4 separate regions of the Homo sapiens genome follow, and all the other regions are linked to region 2. Evidence: promoter capture Hi-C in 16 types of primary human blood cells and fetal thymus (Javierre and others, 2016). All regions are on one chromosome and are shown on one strand. Each heading gives the region's core, a stretch centred on a gene start or on the middle of the fragment in contact. The rest is flanking DNA. Distances are from core to core; before and after follow the strand shown. Region 1 has its middle 3.4 kb from the start of TUBAL3. Region 2 holds the start of PITRM1 (pitrilysin metallopeptidase 1). Region 3 overlaps NET1 (neuroepithelial cell transforming 1). Region 4 holds the start of TASOR2 (transcription activation suppressor family member 2).

Region 1 (3,074 bases), core at 345-2,844, 2.2 Mb before region 2:
AATTTATTAAATTCCTGCTATAATATGCCAGGATCTGTGCTAGACATTAGGGAAATAAGGAATAGAAGACAAATTTTCATCAGAAAATGGCTGGGTACCATAGAAGAAGAGCAAAGAAAAGTGACCGCTCTGAGGGTTGGTCATTGAAGACCTGGGAAAGGCTGGTGACATCTCTTGATCTTACAAGAGATCAACTTTCTGGTGTCTGAATGCCATTGTCCCCATGTTCTATGTCTTACACTGTATAGAACAGTCCCAAAACCATGACAAATGTTCTCTGAATCCTCTCTCTTTCAGTTCCCCACAAATCATCCTTCTCCCTTAAAATATTCACCGGGATAGGGTTTGAGGAAATTGTTTTGATTTCAGCTTTCATATATATAAAATCAGACTCTAGAACTCCCTCTCTGAGAAGATATTCCTACTAACTTGACTAGAGCAAAGTGTAACCCAAACTTTTTCAACCATGGATTTGCAAAACAAATATTCTTTTGGGGAACTTCCTCAAAGATTATTTCCAAAACCTTCAGCCCTATGTGATGACACCAATCATTTTGCAAGTTGATATTAAATAAATTCAACAATCAATAAATGAATGTAAATTATTATGTAAATCAATAATTTAAAAACCTATTTTCTTTCATTATCTAAGTAAATCAAACTATTTTTGCAAAACTGCTTACCAAGTTTTATATATATATATATATATATATGTATATATTAGAGTACAAAGTGTTCATCAAAACACTTTATTAATTTCCAAATTATTTGATGATTTTGATGTGATATTTTGTTTGCCATTGCTATCACTAGCTAAATGATTCCCCTTTGGTCTGTAGGCTCCCATAGAAAAATGTAGCAAATTTGCAAACAATGACCTACCATTAGAAAACTAGTAGTCTTAATAACTAGAGAATTGCCCTTTGCATCAACGTTTTTCTTTTTTGTCTGAATCTTCTCATAGCTTCTCATGAACTAACAGCAATTACATTCAGGAGAATGAATGTCTGTATGTGTGCATATACATATAATTTATATATAGAATGTTATAATAAAGTCTGAAATTTTTAAAAATATATTTACTATATCTACTATTGATTAATTTACAAAACTGTTTATTAGACTGTAATTTTTAATTGGGTCAAACTTAATTGTTCCTGCCAAATGAAAGGGAGTGTAGTCCAACAGCTAAGTATGTGGACTGCATTGATTGTCATTCTGACAAGCAGAAGTGTACTTATAGGCACAATAGGGCAGAATATTTGAAATCAGGTTTGTCATCCCTTAAAATCTATCACTGTGTGTGTATGTGTGATGTGGGGGGAGGTTGTTTCATTTTTTGCCTCAATCAGTCAATCAATCAATCAATCATCTATGAATCATTTGTTTACCATATTGGTTTACTCTTAGGTATTCCAATGAGGAAAATGGAAAACTCCAAAATCTAGCTGTTGAGCTTAGAGAACAATAAAATTTGAGATGAAATATGTGTGGCCAGAGAAGGTGCTATTAATCCAAAGTAGACTGTAATTCATTTTTCTTAACGCTTAGACTATCTTCCTAAAGACATTGCAGGTCTAAAAGACTGATTTATATTAGTAGTAGGAGAGGAGAACAGAGGAGGAAGGAGAAAGGGGTTTCAGTGCAATGGTAGGGGCCAGAGAGAATGGCAAAGGACAGTGATCTGGCTGTGGTTGTGAGGCTGCCAACAGAGAATTACCAAAGAGAACTTCAGAAATGTCAGAATGTCAATCAGAATTATTGCTCAGAGTTGAATAATTTTTTTTTTTTGTAACAAATTTTCATGCTTAGAAGGTTTTGTTTGTCTCATTACTTGGCCAGTGAATTGACTGGCTCACAATGAAAAATACTTAAGAAAGGAACTTTTTTTTTTTTTTGAGATGGAGTTTTGCTCTTGTTGCCCAGGCTGGAGTGCAATGGCGTGACCTTGGTTCACTGTAACCTCCGCCTCCAGGGTTCAAGTGATTCTCCTGCTTCAGCCTCCAGAGTAGCTGGTATTACAGGTGCCTGCCACCACACCCGGCTAATTTTTTGTATTTTTAGTAGAGATGGGGTTTCACCACATTGGCCAGGCTGGTCTTGAACTCCTGACCTCAGGTGATCTGCCCACCTTGGCCTCCCAAAGTGCTGCGATTACAGGCATGAGCCACTGTGCCTGGCCAAGAAAGGAACTTTGAACAAGGACATCGTAACTATAAATACCACACTTTTATCACTCTGCCATTTTTTCACCCTCAGAACCTAAGGGTGGCCACCAAGTATGTCAGAGTCAGTATTGTGTGTGTGATTTATTTTAAGGAATAAGTTAGTGTGATTGTGGGGCTGTAAAGTCTGGAATCAGTAGGGCAGGCTGGCAGACTGGCAGGCTGGAAACTCCTGAGTAACAGCTAAAGCTGAAACTAAAGGTGCCATCCTTAGGAGAAATTTCTTCCTCAGAGAAATCTCCATTTTACTCTTATGGTCTTTCAACTGATTGGATGAGGCCCACTCACATTATTGAGGATGATGTCCTTTACTTAAAGTCAAAGTTTACTGGAGATGTTCACCACACCTCCACAATGCCTGCACAGCAATACCCAGACTAGTGTTAGATTGGATAACTGGGTGCCACAGCCTAGCCAAGTTGACACAAAAACTATCACCCCAGAAGGCCTCTTCAGACGTGAAATTCCAATTATTATCACTTGAGGAAACTTTTTTCTTTAAGACTTAGTCTTTCAAAGAAATAAGGAATTACTAAAAGATAAGATGCATTTCTTAAATTATACTACAAAAGAGATTTTTCTAGTTTCTTTCTAATTCCTACGTAAATCTAAGTTAATCATAGCTCCATGTCAGACTGACAATTTTTAAAAGTTAATGAAAGATACTGAGTACATCAGTGGACTAGAAATGAGATACTCACATTATCTGATTTTTCCCTCATCTTGTTTCAAACTGAAAATATCTGGGACCAGTGGGAGAAAATTTGATACAGCAACAAAATAAATATCATTCTGATTTTATAAAATGGAACTGGCTTAATTTTTCTTTTCATTATATGGAACTACCAG
Region 2 (3,017 bases), core at 508-3,007:
GGCTGTGTCATGGGCATGCCCTTAACCTTGGCAAAATTAACTTTCTAAATTGATTGAGACCTAGATCGGATATTTTGTGTGCACACACCCAAATTCTCCCTAGAAGACGGGTGATGCGCAGAGCGTGTTTGTGTCTGTCGCTCCTATTATTGCCTGTGTTCTGGTTCCTTTGGGCTCTTCAATAAGGAGGTACGTGTTTACCTGCAGCCCAGAACTGGCTGCCCTATGGAGAGTTTAGGGTAGACACGTTGGGACTTTTTCCCACAGTATTACCTTCCACATTGCTTCCAAAGTTTTAGCTTGTTCAAGCCGACTGCAGCCATCTACTTACCATTTAATTTTTAATTTTTTTTTTCAGAGCCCATTAGGAGACAGAGGGAGATTTGAGCCTGTTTGTATTCGTGATACAAGGGGAAAAAAAGAGGGAGAAGGTGAAGGGAGGAAGGAAGAGAGGCTCTGAGAAACCCGGAAGGTCAGACTTGGTGCGGACTTCCTCCAAGGGCTACCCCACCCTCTCCAAGCGTGGCTAATCCCAGGGCCCCTTCTGGCCCACAGTGCAGAACCACCCACTCCTACGGGGGCCTCCTTCAGCCTCTCTGGGGGTTCCCAGAAGGGCCCTTGGGCACTTGGGCAATGTCAGGGGGCTCAGGTGCATCTTCCTAGACACGAAACGAAGAGGAAAGCGGAGGCAGCAGCGGGGGCCACAGGCTCCCATGCAGCAGCTCGGAGCTGTGCTGTGCTTCGCTGGCGGCCATCCGTGATACGTGTGACACCGTGGGGCCCTGGCCCTGGGACCTGCCATGCAGCCTTGAGATCTCATCCAAGAAGCCCCCAGACCCCAAGGTTCAGGCCTGGCGGGGCAGCAGAACGCCTTTGGAGCTCAGCTCAGCCCTACAAACAGGACCAACGCCCACACCAAGGCCAGAGAGGGCTACCAAGTTTCACCTGGCCCAGCTTCCGGCAGCCCCCAACCAGGCCACTACCCTCACCTGAACACCGCGGTCCATCACCAAGCCCCACCCACTTCTGCCAGCCCTGCCCCCACAAGGACCCACCTCTCGCATGCAAGCCCCGCCCCCAAGGCCCAGCTCACCTGCAGCCCCGCCCCACCAGGCTCCACCCCATCGCCTGCAAGCCCCATCCCCAAGGCCCAGCTCACTTGCATCCCCGCCCACTAGGCTCCACCCTGTCACCTGCAAGCCCCGCCCCCAAGGCTCAGCTCACTTGCAATCCCCTCTCCCACTGGTCTCCACTCCTCACCTGCAAAGAGCCACCCCTCGCTAAGCCCCTCCCATCACTTGCACAGCCCCACCCAACACAGCACGCCATTCCAGGAGCCCCTCTTTTCACCAGCGCAGCCCCGCCCTTCACCAGGCCCCACTTCATCTGCATACACACGCCTCTCGCCACGCCCCACTTCTCGCCTGCCCACTTCCCCCTCCTATCATCTGTCCACATCCTGCTGCTGGCCGAACCCCGCCCCTTTCGGCAAGACGGCCCCGCCCCTTTCTACCCGTACCACGCCCCTCGCCTTGCCCGCCTCCTTCGGCACGTCGGCCCCGCCCCTCCCGCCCATCTCCGTCCGCACCGCCCTCCCGCCCGTCCCAGAGCAGTGGAGGCCTACCCTTTTCACCTACAGCCTATCGCAGAGGACGTCGCTGTTCGCGTTGACCAATAGGAGTGGTAGCTGTCACGGCAAGCCCCGCCCCGCGCCCTGCGTCGGGTTAAGAGGGGGTTCCTCGCCAGCCAGGTGCTCGTCATGCGCAATGTGGCGCTGCGGCGGGCGGCAGGGCCTGTGTGTGCTGAGGCGGCTGAGCGGCGGGTGAGACGCTGCGACGGGAGGCGCTCGGCGCGCTGGTACCCGGGAGGGGAGGGTCCAGGGCAGGCCGGAGGCGTAGGGGTCCTCGTCCCTGCGCCCGGGGCTGGCAGCTCCCCAAGCTGTGGGCGTCCCGCACCCCGAGCCCTTCCTGGAGCTCCCGCATCCGAGGCTCCGAGGCCGGAGGACCTCGGAGCTCCTTCCTACTCCCAGGGGCGATGCCCCGGGCTGGGGGCCGGGCCTGCCCGCGGCGCTCCCGGCGGGGCCCTCCATTAGCGTGGGCTTTAACGGGGGTAGTAAATGGGGTCGGCATTTGCGGTTCTCGCTGACAGCTTTGCTCCTAGTTCATTTTTGTTGGGAGGCCGAGTCCTTAAGAGACCCGAGGCGCCCACAGCCCATACTTAAAGTCTCGCTGTGTTCAGAGAACTGACGCCTCCCGGAATTGAACTGTTTTGTTTTTTTAATGACTCAATTTATGGGGAAAAAAATGACGAAGCAGTTTAGTGTTCATGGTAATCCACGAGCCCGTGTTTAATATAAGGTAATAGTTCAGCGCTGCCGGCCCAGGCCGGGAGGCACGGGGCGTCCGTGGCATGAGTTCGGCCTGGCCTTACCGCTCAGGAGTTTCCTATCATGTCCTTGATAAGTAACTTCTTAAAACGCTTCTGTCCCATAATTCTGAAATTTGCTAAATCAGTAAGCAAATGTTGGTTATAGCATATCTTCATAATATTGCCAGTGACTGAATAGGTTTTTTCTTCCTGTACATATTATCTTTAAAATAAATATTTCGGTGGGATACATTAATGTAGAAAATCCCATACGACATATAATACAATTGGAGAGAATAATAATTACGTGTTTTTTAAGAGCAGGGATCTTGCTCTGTTTCCCAGGCTGGTTTGATCCCCCTCCTCAGCCTCTCGCATTGCGGGGTTACAGGTGTGAGCCATCTCATTCAGGTGAGAATAATTATTAGAAATAGGTTGGGCGCGGTGGCTCACACCTGTAATCCCAGCATGTTGGGAGGCCAAGGCGGGCAGACCACTTGAGGTCAGGAGTTCAAGACCAGCCTGGCCGACATGGTGAAACTGTCTCTACTAAAAATACAAAAATTAGCTGGGCGTAGTAGTGAGCACTTGTAGTCCCAGCCACTCAGGAGGCTGAGACAGAATTGCTTGAACCCGGGAGGTGGAGGTTG
Region 3 (3,298 bases), core at 81-2,580, 2.3 Mb before region 2:
AAACAAAAAAATGCCAACAAGCTTTACATGCTCAATGAATTTTCTGCTGCAGGGAACCTTTCACCAGGGCTAAAGTTCACTTGGAGGGAAAAAAAGTCCAACACTCTCTAACATAAGTTTATGTTGTCAATTTAGGTTAATTTTTAATCAGACTAGGTTAGCCAGGCAGTCACATACATTATTATAGGCAATCTGTCCACAGATCAGGGTATTAATTAATGTTAGTAATCCACTTGTAGTTAGATTTTATGCCTTAAAAATTTCTCGACATCTATAAACAGAAAATTGTTGAGAATAAGTTAAAGTATTTTTCAGGTTATGCCTTACAGCTAACTGCAACGACATGGAAAAATCCTGTTGAGAAGTCAGCATTCTGTAGAAAGGCTTTTTCTTCTAATGATGCCAGTTAGAGAACATATTTTAGGAGGGTCTCTTCTATAACCAATCATATCAAGACACTGAATAAAAAAAATAGTATGCACCTGGGTCTATTCCTTTGGGTTATAATAGTTAAATAATCTTCTCTTAAAATCTTTAGCAAAACTTTAAAATCAAAAGAAAATAAAAGTTATTTTTAAAAAGATAAAAACGAGTTATGATCACATGGGATGAATTCCTTTTCTAGAAATACTCAAATTATTTAGAGCTGTGTCACTAGATCTAAAACCGTGACAACATTCCTAGTGCTTGTAACTTAGAAATAAAGGTAAGGCAGAAACACAGCCCATGCTGATACTAAACAAAGGCCAGCTTCTATGGGCCCAACAGATGATAAGCTGCAGGATTCACACTAGTGACTGTGGATGACTGCTCTACTCAAAGGAAATACTTACACATTTTGAGAAAACCGACACATAGGCAAAGACCAAAACCAAGAACAAAAACCAAAGCCAAACCACACCAAATAAAAGTGTACTTCCTGAAGACGGCAGCTATTTTAACTACCAAAAGGTGTGTGTATGTGTACACATGACAAGCAACTTTGCTGGGGTATTCAGTAAGCTTTACATATTTAAAATGCACAATTAGATAAGTTTTGACGTGTGTATAGAGACGGAAACCACTACCACAATCAAGAGATACACAGTTAACTGAATGCAGGAACACTATTCCTAGCATATAAGTGACAATGTAGTATATATTAAAGTATATAGTATAAACAGAATATCACACAATGTTAAATCAAGATTACATAAAATGGCATAAAGTAATTTGATTTATATTGATAAATGTTCATAAAGACTAAAAAAAGACTCAGACAAAGCAAGGAGGGTAAAAATAATGAGTCACTGGTTTAAATATTCTAACATGCCTCTTTCCTTCTGAAGAAAAAAGTGGCATACAATGAACTCATCAGATGGAAGAAAAATGCACACCAGGTCAGACTAAACTTTAGTTGCAATTTGTTCACTAGCATTGATTTACAAGAACGGGATTCTTTTCCTCTTGCTCCATTAAGGTAGTTTCTAAGACTGGATGATATCAATTCAAGTTAAAAAAACAATTATATTAAGCATCAGAAATGTGACAAACGTAACCCGAGTAACATATACATTTAAAATCTTTTCCTTTTTTATAAAAGCTGTGTACACTCAAGCTATGCTATGTATAAACTATTTAAACTTAGACCACAGTCCCTAAACACATTTCAAGCTTGCACATAAATCAAGAACATACATTGTAATAATAAGATCAAAAGTTTAAAATTATACTGTTAATACCTTGTTAAAAATTTTAAAAGCTCCGTGGAGTTAGAAAACATTCCTTTTGCCTAACGTTTCTCTTAAAGTCTTACCTCTTGTTCTCTGAAGGACTGGTTATTGACATCTAGGACTCGTATGGTCCTTTTAATAGGTAGGAGACCTCCAGTCTCATCATGTGCCACCATGCTTCCCAAGTACTCCCTCAAACCTTTCCAATCAATCCACACCGAGTCAGCGCTGTAGCGACGCTATGCAGAGGCACACGGGCTTTTCTTCCCAGAGCTCGGCCACCCTCGGCAGCCACGTGCCCATGCCTCTCGCCGCGGTGGAGCAGAGGCTTCTGAGAGCCGCAGGCAGCAAGCACCGACCCCAGGGCTCGGGGGCGGGGCCACAGCCAACCGGGCCCTGGGGGCGGGGTCCACCACCACGTGACTTCAGTTAACTGAGAGCTGGGCACACCTAGGCCTCTCAGCTTTCGCCCAGGAGGAGAGTGAAGCTGGGTTCAAGTAGGACAGAAACTTCTCTTCCTGATTTAAAATGCATTCCCGAAGTAAAACAAATTGTTACGTTATCTACTCTGGTGCTTAGTCACAGACAGGCAGACTTTTCCCATAAAACCCTATTGCATGGGAATAAGTTCAGTATGGACAACTTGACAACTCAAATAAGGAAATAGAAATTCTTATTCGATAGGGCTGAATCAACATATATAATGAAGAAAAGCCTAATTTTCCAGGAAACCTGCTTTTATTTTACAGAAGTGCAAGCATATTCACAATTATAAAATAGATTATCTAAGTCTTTAAATAGTTCCCACTTTTTCTTAAGACTAGCAGGGTAAATACAGCAGGTGCACTTCTGTTACCTCTCTTCCAGAAGAAAATCTCCCATGAGGTTACGGGTAAACTGGGCTACTTCAGATTTCAAAATTCAGTATTTCTTAGAGGTAGATATTTTTTCTGGATCTTTTTAAAAACTTGATTATCTGTGTACTAGATATTTTATAACAAAGGTGATTTCTGTTCTCTATATTGTATACATAGTATGTAATTGTGTATATATTATATATAAGTGTATAATATAACAGGGTCCTTCTCTAGACTGAATTAACTGATCTTGATATAGCTCGAACAGGGTCAAAAGACTGCTTAAAAAGTCTTGCATTTTACAGGTGAAGAAATGAGGCTAACAGAGGTGAAGTGACAATAATGACAGTGACCAGTGACAGTCTCCAAATTTCTAGCCTAAGTCTTTTCCTCTATGGAACAACACTACTTTTGTTGGCTTGGCAGGCCTGCTGTGAAGCAGATTTCCTTTTAAACACAAAATTCGTTATTCTATTTGGAATGGTAAAATTTTACACTATAAACTACTATAATATGATGGTAGTATGTTGGAAAAATATTTCTAGTCTGAGGATTTATAGAATCAGATAAATCTATTATATAAAAGTCACTATTCTAGATACTTGGGTAATAAAAAAAAATAGGCTTCATATCTGCTAAAGAGACCATTGTGTAAAGGTAGGCCACATGAAGAGATAACAGAAGATAGCTTTTGCAAATTCAAAACTAAGGTGTGTAGCTAATAAGTGC
Region 4 (3,275 bases), core at 39-2,538, 2.5 Mb before region 2:
AGGACATACCGCATACAGTCACCCATTCCTATAAGGCAGTTTTTCGACAGAAGGGTATTCTTGCACCGTTAGGGGACACTGCTTTGCTATAAACCTCCTAGGCAGGATTACCGCCAGGCTCACCCCTAGTTTTATTCAGGGAACACTGTAGACTCTAGGATCGCGAATGCCATTCCAATAATACCATACACTTGTACGCCACATATTTAAGTTTTGGATACACTTTCATAAACTTTTCTATTCTAATTGTACCTTACAGGGAGAATAAGGAAGAGTAAGCGTGGTTTGTTTAAAGTTACAGATTTCAAATAGACAAGAAGCGACTAAGAGAAACTTGAGAATTCCCAAAGTAATCTTCCTCAAAATTTCAGTCATCAACCCAGTTCTCCCACGAAACGCTGCTTGGCGCCGCCTTCAGACAAACTTCTGTGTTGCTCGCACCAAGTTATCCCAACGCGGCTTGCGCTTGCTGCTGAAATGACCCTCCCTTCGGAGAGACCTGTTTTACCCTAAAAAGAAAAGGTGGCGCATTGCCATGAAGTCTCGAGTAGCAGCAGGCTTCACGCAGAACCCGCAGGAAATGATTTCCCAGCCGGTGCAAACCCGAAGACGGAAACTTCAGCCAAGAACTTATCAGCATATCCCTGAGGACGCAGCTGTCCCCTGACAGGCGACGCAAACGAAACGCCTCAGAAAGGGGCAAGATGACACGGTTAGGATCTCCCTGCCGGCGACACCGAGCGCGGCCACAGGTTGTAGCGCAGGACAGAAGGTTGAGTCATCTAGAAGGCGCCGACCCCTCCCACCCCCTCACCCGGAGCGCGGCAAAAGGCAAGGAGAACGCGTCGACCCTCGCAGCCAAGCCCCGGCAGCTGCCCGAGCGCTCGGCCTCGGGGACCCGCCGTCCTCCTCGCAGGGTTCCCGGGCGCCCAGGCCGAGGAGGGACTTACCCGTCCTTGGCGTGGCCGCCGCCCCCGAGGACCTGAGATCCCGGCTCGGCCTCCTTCCCATGCTTCTCCCGGCCGTGCTCTGCGTCCTCCCGGGCCCTCGCGACACCGGCGCACGTGGGAAGCACCAGTCGCCGGCTCCGCGCTCCCGCGGGGACCCCCCTCAGGGGCACGCCGTCCGCCCCAGCCCCGGGGTCCTCGCCGCGGGCGCTGACAGGGACGCCGCGGCCGCCCGCGCTCTGTCTCCCGTCAGGGTCACGGGCAAGAGGCAACCCCGGGACGCCCGGCAGCCTGCGAGAACATGCCGACTTTCTCTCTGACCGGCGCTAGCAACCGGAAGCAAAACCTCGCGGCCAAAGGAAAAGAAAAGGGGAGGGGGGGGCAAAAAAAGAAAGTGAAAACTGAAGTGAGGCGTCTCCCTCAGAGATGGGAACCAATCGCCGGGAAGAAACCAAGGCGCAGGCGCGGACCGAGGTCAGCGTCCACGCGGCGCTCGCGTCTCCCCTCTGCGCAGGCGTAAGGCCACAGCTCGCTCCTGATTAGGCGGCCGATCCCAACGAGCGCGTGGTGTCTCGCGTTGCCGACCCTTGACAGGAGGCGGAAGATGCCCTTGGGAAGAGGCGGGAGACGCTCTCTCGGCTGACCTACAGTGCTGTGGCTGTGGCCCACGTGGTCGCCTTCGGGCGCCTTCTCCCTTCTCAGCGTTTCATTCCCCAGGTGCTGCTGCAAGAACAGTTTATTTGTCTGGCCCGAATGCGACATTTTGGAAATTTTGCCCTTGTTTTAATCCATATAGTAGGTGTGGCTGTTACCCCCTAGGAAAGCATCTCTAGAAATTTATAACACATGCACAGAGAGCTAAGGTGACCATCAATAAATTCAGGTTTACCCTTGCCCATGATAAATAGTCATGCAAACATCATTTAACTGTAGGGACACCTTATGAGAGAGATGCCTCATTAGGCAATTTGGTCCTTGAGTGAACATCACAGAAACCTAGAAGCATAACCTACTACATACTTACACCATAAGCCATAGCCCATTACTCCTGGCTACAAACCCATGCTATATGTTATTGTACTGAATACTGTGGACAATTATAACACAATGGTAAGTATTTGTATAAGCATATCTAGACATAGAAAAGGTACAATAAAAATACAGTATGAAAAATAATGGTACACCTGTGTAAGGCATTCTCACGAATGGACCTTGCAGTACTGGGAGTTGCTCTGGGTGAGTCTGTGAGTGAGCAATGAGAATGTGAAGGTCTGGGACATTACTGTACACTCTTGTAGACTTTATAAACACTGTACACCTAAGCTACACTGAATTTATTTTTTTAAATTTTTTCATAATTAACCTTAGCTTACTGTAACTTTTTAACTTTTTAAAACTTTTAAAAAACTTTTTAAGACTCTTTTGTAATAACACTTAGCTTAAAACAAACACATTGTACACAAATATTTTCTTTATATCCTTAATCTGTAAGTTTTTTTCTATTTAAAAATTTTTTTAATTTACTTTTTAAACTTTTTTGTTAAAAACTAAGACACAAACACACATTAACCTGGGCCTACACAGGGTCAGGATCATCAACATCATTGTCTTCACCTCCATTTTGTCCCACTGGGGGGCTGGGATTACGGTGGAGCCACTGCGCCTGGCCATGTGTGCTGTACTTTTATATGACTGGCAGTGCAGTAGATTCATTTACACCAGCATCACCACAAACATATGAGTAATGTGTTGCTGTACGAAATTAAGATGGCTACGACATCACTAGGCAATAGAACTCTTCAGCTCTATTATAATCATATAAGATCACTGTTGGATATGTGGTCTGTTGTTAACTGAAACATTAAGTGACATATGACTGTACCAATGAGAGAGATTAAGTGCTAATGAACATGTATCATGAGTCAAGCACTGTGCTGGTAATACCAAGAGATTCAGTCATTGTGTTTACTGTTTACTGTAACCAGGTGCTGTAATAGACACTGGTTTTACAATCATGAACAAGCTAGATAAGGACCCTGCCTATAATGGAATTTATTCCAGAGGTGAGTGACAAACACAGGTAAATCACCACGACAAGAAAATAGAATCTCAGATAACAATACATGCTGTGAAAACTCACTGGAAATGCTAGTGGATGGGACTGGGGGCTGGAGGCCAAGGGCAGAAGTAGTGGAGCTACAAGATCTTACTGAAATGGGCACATCTGAGGTCAAACCCTAAAGATCAAAACTGATAGAACCAAAGCTTGGAATACGTGGAGGAAGAGCTTTCCAGGCAGAAGGGAAAGCAAGTGCAAAGGACTTGAGA

Evidence for each region. Contacts are between HindIII fragments. The CHiCAGO score rates a contact against its expected background, and 5 or more counts as called.
Region 1: a fragment that was not itself captured here is called in contact with the fragment with the promoter of PITRM1 in region 2 in 1 of 17 cell types (monocytes); the score reaches 5.1 in monocytes.
Region 3: a fragment that was not itself captured here is called in contact with the fragment with the promoter of PITRM1 in region 2 in 1 of 17 cell types (monocytes); the score reaches 6.7 in monocytes.
Region 4: a contact is called between the fragment with the promoter of TASOR2 here and the fragment with the promoter of PITRM1 in region 2, in 1 of 17 cell types (monocytes). The highest score is 6.8, in monocytes.

The regions. Positions count from the first base shown.
Region 1 is chr10:5,406,653-5,409,726 of GRCh38, reverse strand. No RefSeq gene overlaps it. Among named protein-coding and RNA genes, the nearest start is that of TUBAL3, 3.4 kb to the right of the region's middle. The HindIII fragment of the contact is 5,363 bases long and covers 1-3,074 here.
Region 2 is chr10:3,171,522-3,174,538 of GRCh38, reverse strand. It overlaps PITRM1 (pitrilysin metallopeptidase 1), which reads left to right and starts at 1,757. Exons shown (of 27, transcript NM_014889.4): 1 at 1,757-1,822. The coding sequence starts at 1,767. RefSeq lists an enhancer at 207-744 and silencers at 943-1,102, 1,393-2,232. The HindIII fragment of the contact is 12,209 bases long and covers 1-3,017 here.
Region 3 is chr10:5,445,356-5,448,653 of GRCh38, reverse strand. All of the region lies in intron 3 of NET1 (neuroepithelial cell transforming 1), which reads right to left. Among named protein-coding and RNA genes, the nearest start is that of NET1, 34 kb to the right of the region's middle. RefSeq lists a silencer at 2,007-2,236. The HindIII fragment of the contact is 651 bases long and covers 1,005-1,655 here.
Region 4 is chr10:5,682,851-5,686,125 of GRCh38, reverse strand. TASOR2 (transcription activation suppressor family member 2) reads right to left here and starts at 1,288. Exons shown (of 22, transcript NM_001321783.2): 1 at 951-1,288. RefSeq lists enhancers at 445-624, 1,245-1,354, 1,495-1,734 and silencers at 845-894, 935-1,194. The HindIII fragment of the contact is 4,285 bases long and covers 1-3,214 here.